Linked DNA regions of Homo sapiens: region 2 is linked to region 1. The links are contacts of gene promoters, found by promoter capture Hi-C in blood cells and fetal thymus (Javierre and others, 2016). All regions are on one chromosome and are shown on one strand. The core of a region is centred on a gene start or on the middle of the fragment in contact, and the rest is flanking DNA. Distances in the headings are between cores, read along the strand shown.

Region 1 (3,054 bases), core at 181-2,680:
TGGGGACCAGGAGCAGTTGGTATGTTAAATTATTTCTCTTGAGCTTTATGCATTTTGGTGGCTACTGTTGAAAACACAGTTTGGTCAGTGATGTCCACATACACATTACATATAATATGTATTACTAGAAAATGATATACACTTGCATGATATACCATGTGGTTGCAATCCATTAAGTGACTACTCTCTAGCAGTACCCAGAACAATAGATGGTGTGTCTGTGCTGACAGTCTGTTCATATCTTAATGGTTTACTTATGATTCAATAGTTTACCAATGGCAATGGTGCTGGATCACTGATATATTATTTGCTTGGCAAAGAGTACTTGAACCTCATTATTAGACTTAGGAACAGAATAAATACAAATAATCACTTTGCTAAGGCTGTTTTCCTAACTCCCAAGGAAGACAGAAAGGCATCAGTGACATAAGTGAAGGACACAGTTGACAACCACGTTATCTTCAGACATCTTTTGTTAAAGGTGAACAATTACTTAATACTGTGTTATGGCAGCACTCTATACGCCCCAAGTTTTATAAAGTAGAGTCAAGAGTGATCTGAGCTGGGAAACTCACGCAATTTTAGTTCTGCATGAAAGCACAGGCTCTCCCCACTGGGGAACTCTTTTGAGTAGGACAAAAAGCTGGACCTAGGACCCAGCCCAGGGCGTGAGAGAAAAGGAACCTGGGAGGCAAGAGCGGCCGGTCCGGAGCCGGGTCCTCCGCCAGCTCCGGGCGGGCGCTGCGCACAGAGCCCAAGCCCCCGGCGGAGGCGGCGCGGCTCGAGGCCCCTCCCCGCCGCCGATGCCCGGGCGGCTGACGCCGAGCAGCGGCCCGGAGCGGTGGGGGCCGGGCTGGCGGGCACGAGCGAGGGCAGGGCAGGGGGCCGGCCGAGGCCACTTACGGCTTTAAATATGGATCGCAGGCTCGCGCTCGCGGCACAGCCTCCGCCGCGGCCGCCTTCCGTGAGCCCCCGCACCCCGGCTTGCTCCCGAGGGGCGCCTGGGCTGGGCTCCACTGCTGCAGTGTTAGTTACTAGCAGGAACATCAGAGATCCCCATAAATATGCAGGAGCTGCAGGAGGCAAAGTAGAGTAGACGCCCGCGCTCTTACACACTCGCTCGCCGCGCACCACACAGGCTGTGTAGACATCCCCCCGCGCCACCTTTCCCCTTTCCTCGCGGGCCGTTCAGGTTGCAGTCCTGCCTGCTCCGAAGACCCTCCCGCCCCAGCGCCTTTGCCCCGCTCTCCCGCGCTCGCCTCTCTCCGGAGCGCGCACCCACCCAGGCGGCAAAGTTGTGACTACTTGGGCGCGGGTGACTGGCGCCCCGCTCGCTCCGCGCCCGGCGCAGACAACTTCCCGCGGCTCGGCCCCGCCGCGTCCCGGGCTCGCGCCTCCAGGGATTCCGCGGCCCCCCAGCCTCCAACCCCGGCGGCGCGCCGGGCAGCGCTTCGGTGGCGGCGGCGGCCGCGGTGGCAGCGAAGGCGGCGGCGGCGGCGGCAGTGGCAGTGGCCGCTGCAGCCCCACACTCCGCCGCCAAACTGGAGGAGCGACGGAAGCCAGACCCCAGGAGGTGAGCGCCCGGCCCCGGCAGCTGCCGGGAGGGTCGATGGGGTCCCTCGCTCCAAGGCGGAGGCGGGCGCGGGCCCGGGGGCCGATTCCGTAGGGCGCGCAGGCGGCCTCAGCGCGCTCCTGGGAGGGAGAGAGAGGTCAATTGCGGGCCGGGCATCCCCTGAGCTGGGCGCGGGCGGTGTGTGGAGGCTGCTTCCGCGGAAAAGTATTTTTTTTCCTTCTTAGGGTTTAGAGGAAGAGTTTGGGTGGTCTGCTTCTCCCTCACTGCTAAGTCCCCTGCGCGCAACTGGGCGTCTTTACGAGGACTGCGGGGCCAGTTCTGCGGCGGGCTGGGCTCGGGCTCAGTGACACGTGTGTTGCTGTGAGCCTGGGTGGTCGCCCTGTGACCAGGCACCTGCTTGAGAGGAACACATCCCTAAACCCATCACAGGGGGAGATTTGGGGACTCTTGGTGCTACCGAGGCCGCGGCCCCCACTTCACTGCCAGCTCCAGGACGGAGCATTTACATCTCTCCCTGGCACGCCAAAGGCGGGGGGTGAGTCAGGCAGATTCTCTGCAAGTGGCACACACACATTTATTTGCAATGGATTTGGCTAGGGGAGGCATAGGTTAAACTGGAATTTCTCTTGGCCAGCGACAACGGAGCTCTCCCTCAGGTACTGGGCAGCATGTGAGTCTTGGCAAAGAGAGGTGATTTCTTTTTTCTTAAGTGCATTTTACTCAGCCGTTGCCAGTCCGTTAATAAGTCACCAGAGGAAGGCAGGACCTGGGAACTACATCAGCAAACCGCAGCAAGCACCATAAAGACAAAAGTTCTTATAGAACAAAAAGAAAAACTTGAACTTGACGTGAAAGATGGAGGAAGCAGTTCTACCTCTCTTCTATCACTTTTTTCAGCGCCCTGTAAAACTGTTTTTTTCTATCCTTCCTTCCCTCTCAAGGCCCTACCTTCTCAGCATAATTGATCGCAGCAAGCTCTTTCCAACTTGACACTGAAGAGCAGCGACCCCTTTGGCTTACCCTCCCCATTTCTTTTCCTGGTTCGCTTCAGTGCCCTGGAAAGTTGCTCCTAATGAGAAATCAAGAACACTGGGCTGTACTAAACGCTCATTGTCTCAAATCCTGCAGCAGTTCCTTTCCTAAGAGACACTGTGTTGTACTGTATTTCTCTTTTTTCTTGTATCTTGGGACTTGGAGTTGTAATACTACCTGAATTAAATTAATTAAAGTGTACATTGCTCATTTGGGCTTTTTTTTTTCATTGTGATTTCAGTAGATTCGTCAATGCCATTAGAACAATATTCAGTAGCTTTTTATAGCCAATGTGATGTCTTTTGAAAACGTTTCTGACTACAGCTCTCTTTCTTGTGTCTTTCATATTAGCATGTAAATAATTTACATGGTCATTTTAGTACTTAGACTGAAGATATTAGTATAACTTCATTCAAAGGAAGTGTGCCTGTTTATTTTTCTATAACTTT
Region 2 (3,054 bases), core at 337-2,836, 200 kb before region 1:
ATATCAGAGTTTTGTTGTAATATTAAAATTTACCGTGGAAATCACTGTTGTTCAGCTATCACCTTAATTGTGTATGATATGATAAATGTTTAGCAGTAAAGCTATCTTAAGATTTAATGGAAAAGTTTAATTTGAAGATGTAACAAAAATTCTGACCACAGTTGATTCTGAATTTTTAAGGCTTTCCTAATAGGCTGATCACAGAGAATAATCCATTTTGAAGGTATAAAACTGCACTGTATGTCTGTCACTTGTAGCTGAACTGATTCACATTTTGACAAAAGAGAGAAAATACAAAAATGAGTTTTGCAAATGTAATAACTTTTTCTGCATATAGAACTAAATAATTGAAAAATATGGGCTATAGTTCTCAAAGGTAGATAGTAAAATCACTGGCTTTTTCCAGCTGTATGTTTTTCCACTGTGCGTGTACACACACACTGGAAAATAATTAGGCTGATTTTGCAGGTCTTCATTGTTAGAGATTCTGAAGTATTTACTGTCAATTCATAGGTTTCAGTTTATTTAGGAAATTAGTGTTTGACAGCTTTTTTTAAATTATTTCACTGAAGCTGAGATTATTAGTGATACAAAGTTAAAATTTCAATATTTAATTTCTCTATATATTATTAATATTAAATTGTTTTTTACTTATAAATTCATGTTCTCATCTGATTTAATATTAAATTTGTATAGGTGGGCGTTTCTTACCATTTTGCACAAGTTTTTGTTTTTCTGAAATACTTAATTGTGCAGGTTGTAAAAAAGATTAGTGCATTTTCATTTTAAGGATGCTTTGCTCCTTAAATTGTTCGACAGAAATGACTTTTTAGGGAAAGTAGTTTTTTTGGAGCTACTAACTTGTATTTATTATTGTACATGCATAACCAGGGTGGTGAGGGCACTAATCTTGTAGGAAACACTTACTTGATGTTTTATTTGAACTTTTCCTATAGGTTTAACTTTTACTGCATAGAATTAACACTAGGAACAGTGTCATGAAATCTGGGTTGAAGGAGAATACAGTATATATGAGAACACTTAAAGTTCAAATAGAAATCATTTCTGAAGACAAAAGCAGAGGAATATTGTCAGTGCCAAGTAATGGAAGAATAAGGGCGGCATTTACACTGTGCAAGTATTGAGAAGAGTGCATAAAGACAGGGAACTACTCTCATGGAGACAGTTTCTCTCTTATAATCAAGTAACTAGAAGGGGAAAAATCATCTAAGTTATGAAATCCAACATAGGCGCTATATTACAAACTGTGCCGGATTATGCAAATTGTAGTTGTTACTGATCAAAGTTTAATTGCTTCATTTTTGTTTAAAAAGGGATACTGATGTCAGAAAATCTGTAATATGTTTTATTCAAAAGATGTAAATAATGTATACAGACTTGTATGTGATGGGATGGGAAATATTTAAATTCTAGGTGTTTTTTTTTTTTTAAAGAAGAAACTCAATGTTTATAAGAAAAAAATGAATAAATAGTTACGTTTGGCCATGAATCCTGACTTTGCATTACTGTTTATTTTTGCTATAGGCATTCCCACACTAAACACATTCCAAGGGAAATATTGATGGCATATGGAATATGTTGAACATTTAAAATTTGTTAGGCACTATTTTCTGTAATGTTCACAACAACCAGTGTCTTAACATCTTAGAAAACTAAAGCTCAGAAATTGTACAAGTCACTGATTTGGATTACGGTTTTAAAACCCTACTGTGTCTGAACTTGAAACCAGTGTTTCTGTTTTACTTTTTTCACTTTTTTCTTTATTCTGCAGTATGCAGGTGTATGTTTTCTATAATATATACTATTACAGTGAGAACAGTTAGCACAGTAATAATCATTTGTTGACCTCTTCACCAAGCTATTATTTAATATTTTGTCTTCATTACAGATCATTAAGGAATATTAATAATATTGGAGAATCATTTACCAAGTTCCAAAAGGAAATGTGTATTTTATTTTATTTTATTTATGAGACGGAGTCTTGCTCTGTTGCCCAGGCTGGAGTGCAATGGCACGACCTCAGCTCACTGCAACTTCCACCTCCTGGGTTCAAGTGATTCTCCTGCCTCAGCCTCCCAAGTAGCTGGGATTACAGGCATATGCCACTATGTCCGGCTAATTTTTTGTATTTTTAGTAGAGACAGGGTTTCACCATGTTGGCCAGGCTGGTCTCAAAACTCCTGACCTAAGGTGACCCATGAGCTTTGGCTTCCCAAAGTGCTGGGATTATAGGCGTGAGCCATCGCGCCTGGCCAAAACGTGTATTTTAGAAGTCTTCTCAGAGTATCAGAAGTATTTATGTTAGAGGCATTTGTGTTTGAATCTTCAGGTTAAGAATATTTAATGGTAGTAGCCACAGTTGCTCAAAGTCACTAATGGTATTTGGGAGAAAGACTAGTTGAAATGCTAGCCAATGCTGTTGTGGACTGTGTCTGCATGCTTTAAAAACGCCCTGTGGGCCGGGCGCGGTGGCTCACGCCTGTAATCCCAGCACTTAGGGAGGCCGAGGTGGGCGGATCACGAGCTCAGGAGTTGAGACCTGCCTGGCCAATGTGGGGAAACCCCATCTCTACTAAAAAATACATTAAAAAATTAGCCGGGCACGGTGGCGCTTGCCTGTTGTCCCAGTTACTCGGGAGGCTGAGGCAGGAGAATTGCTTGAATCCGAGAGGCGGACTGTGCCACTGCACTCCAGCCTGGGCGACAGAGCAAGACTCCGTCTCAAAAAATAAAAAAATAAAAACACTCTGTTATTCATTTATTGTGTGTAAAGAAATATATATTGTAAAATTACCTACATTTTGATAATTAGGTTCATTTACCTCTGTTGTACTAAATGTATTATAAGTTGTTAATCCCTTATATAACATCTGCAATGAGCATTTTGCAACACAAAGATTCTAATTAATTATTCCTCTAAGGTTTAAACAACCATGTTTAGTAGAAGTTTTACTAAGAAATTGTACATGCTCCTGTTACAGCATGATGAATACAGTGTCACATTTTCTTGATGACCTCAGTCCACTTCACAAG

Evidence for each region. Contacts are between HindIII fragments. The CHiCAGO score rates a contact against its expected background, and 5 or more counts as called.
Region 2: a fragment that was not itself captured here is called in contact with the fragment with the promoter of SLC4A4 in region 1 in 1 of 17 cell types (total CD8 T cells); the score reaches 5.0 in total CD8 T cells.

Annotation. Positions count from the first base shown.
Region 1 is chr4:71,185,829-71,188,882 of GRCh38, forward strand. It overlaps SLC4A4 (solute carrier family 4 member 4), which reads left to right and starts at 1,431. Exons shown (of 26, transcript NM_001098484.3): 1 at 1,431-1,573. LOC124900712 (a long non-coding RNA gene) reads right to left here and starts at 696. Exons shown (of 2, transcript XR_007058133.1): 1 at 1-696. The HindIII fragment of the contact is 10,115 bases long and covers 1-3,054 here.
Region 2 is chr4:70,986,659-70,989,712 of GRCh38, forward strand. MOB1B (MOB kinase activator 1B) reads left to right here. Exons shown (of 6, transcript NM_173468.4): 6 at 1-1,510. Among named protein-coding and RNA genes, the nearest start is that of DCK, 5.5 kb to the right of the region's middle. The HindIII fragment of the contact is 3,316 bases long and covers 1-3,054 here.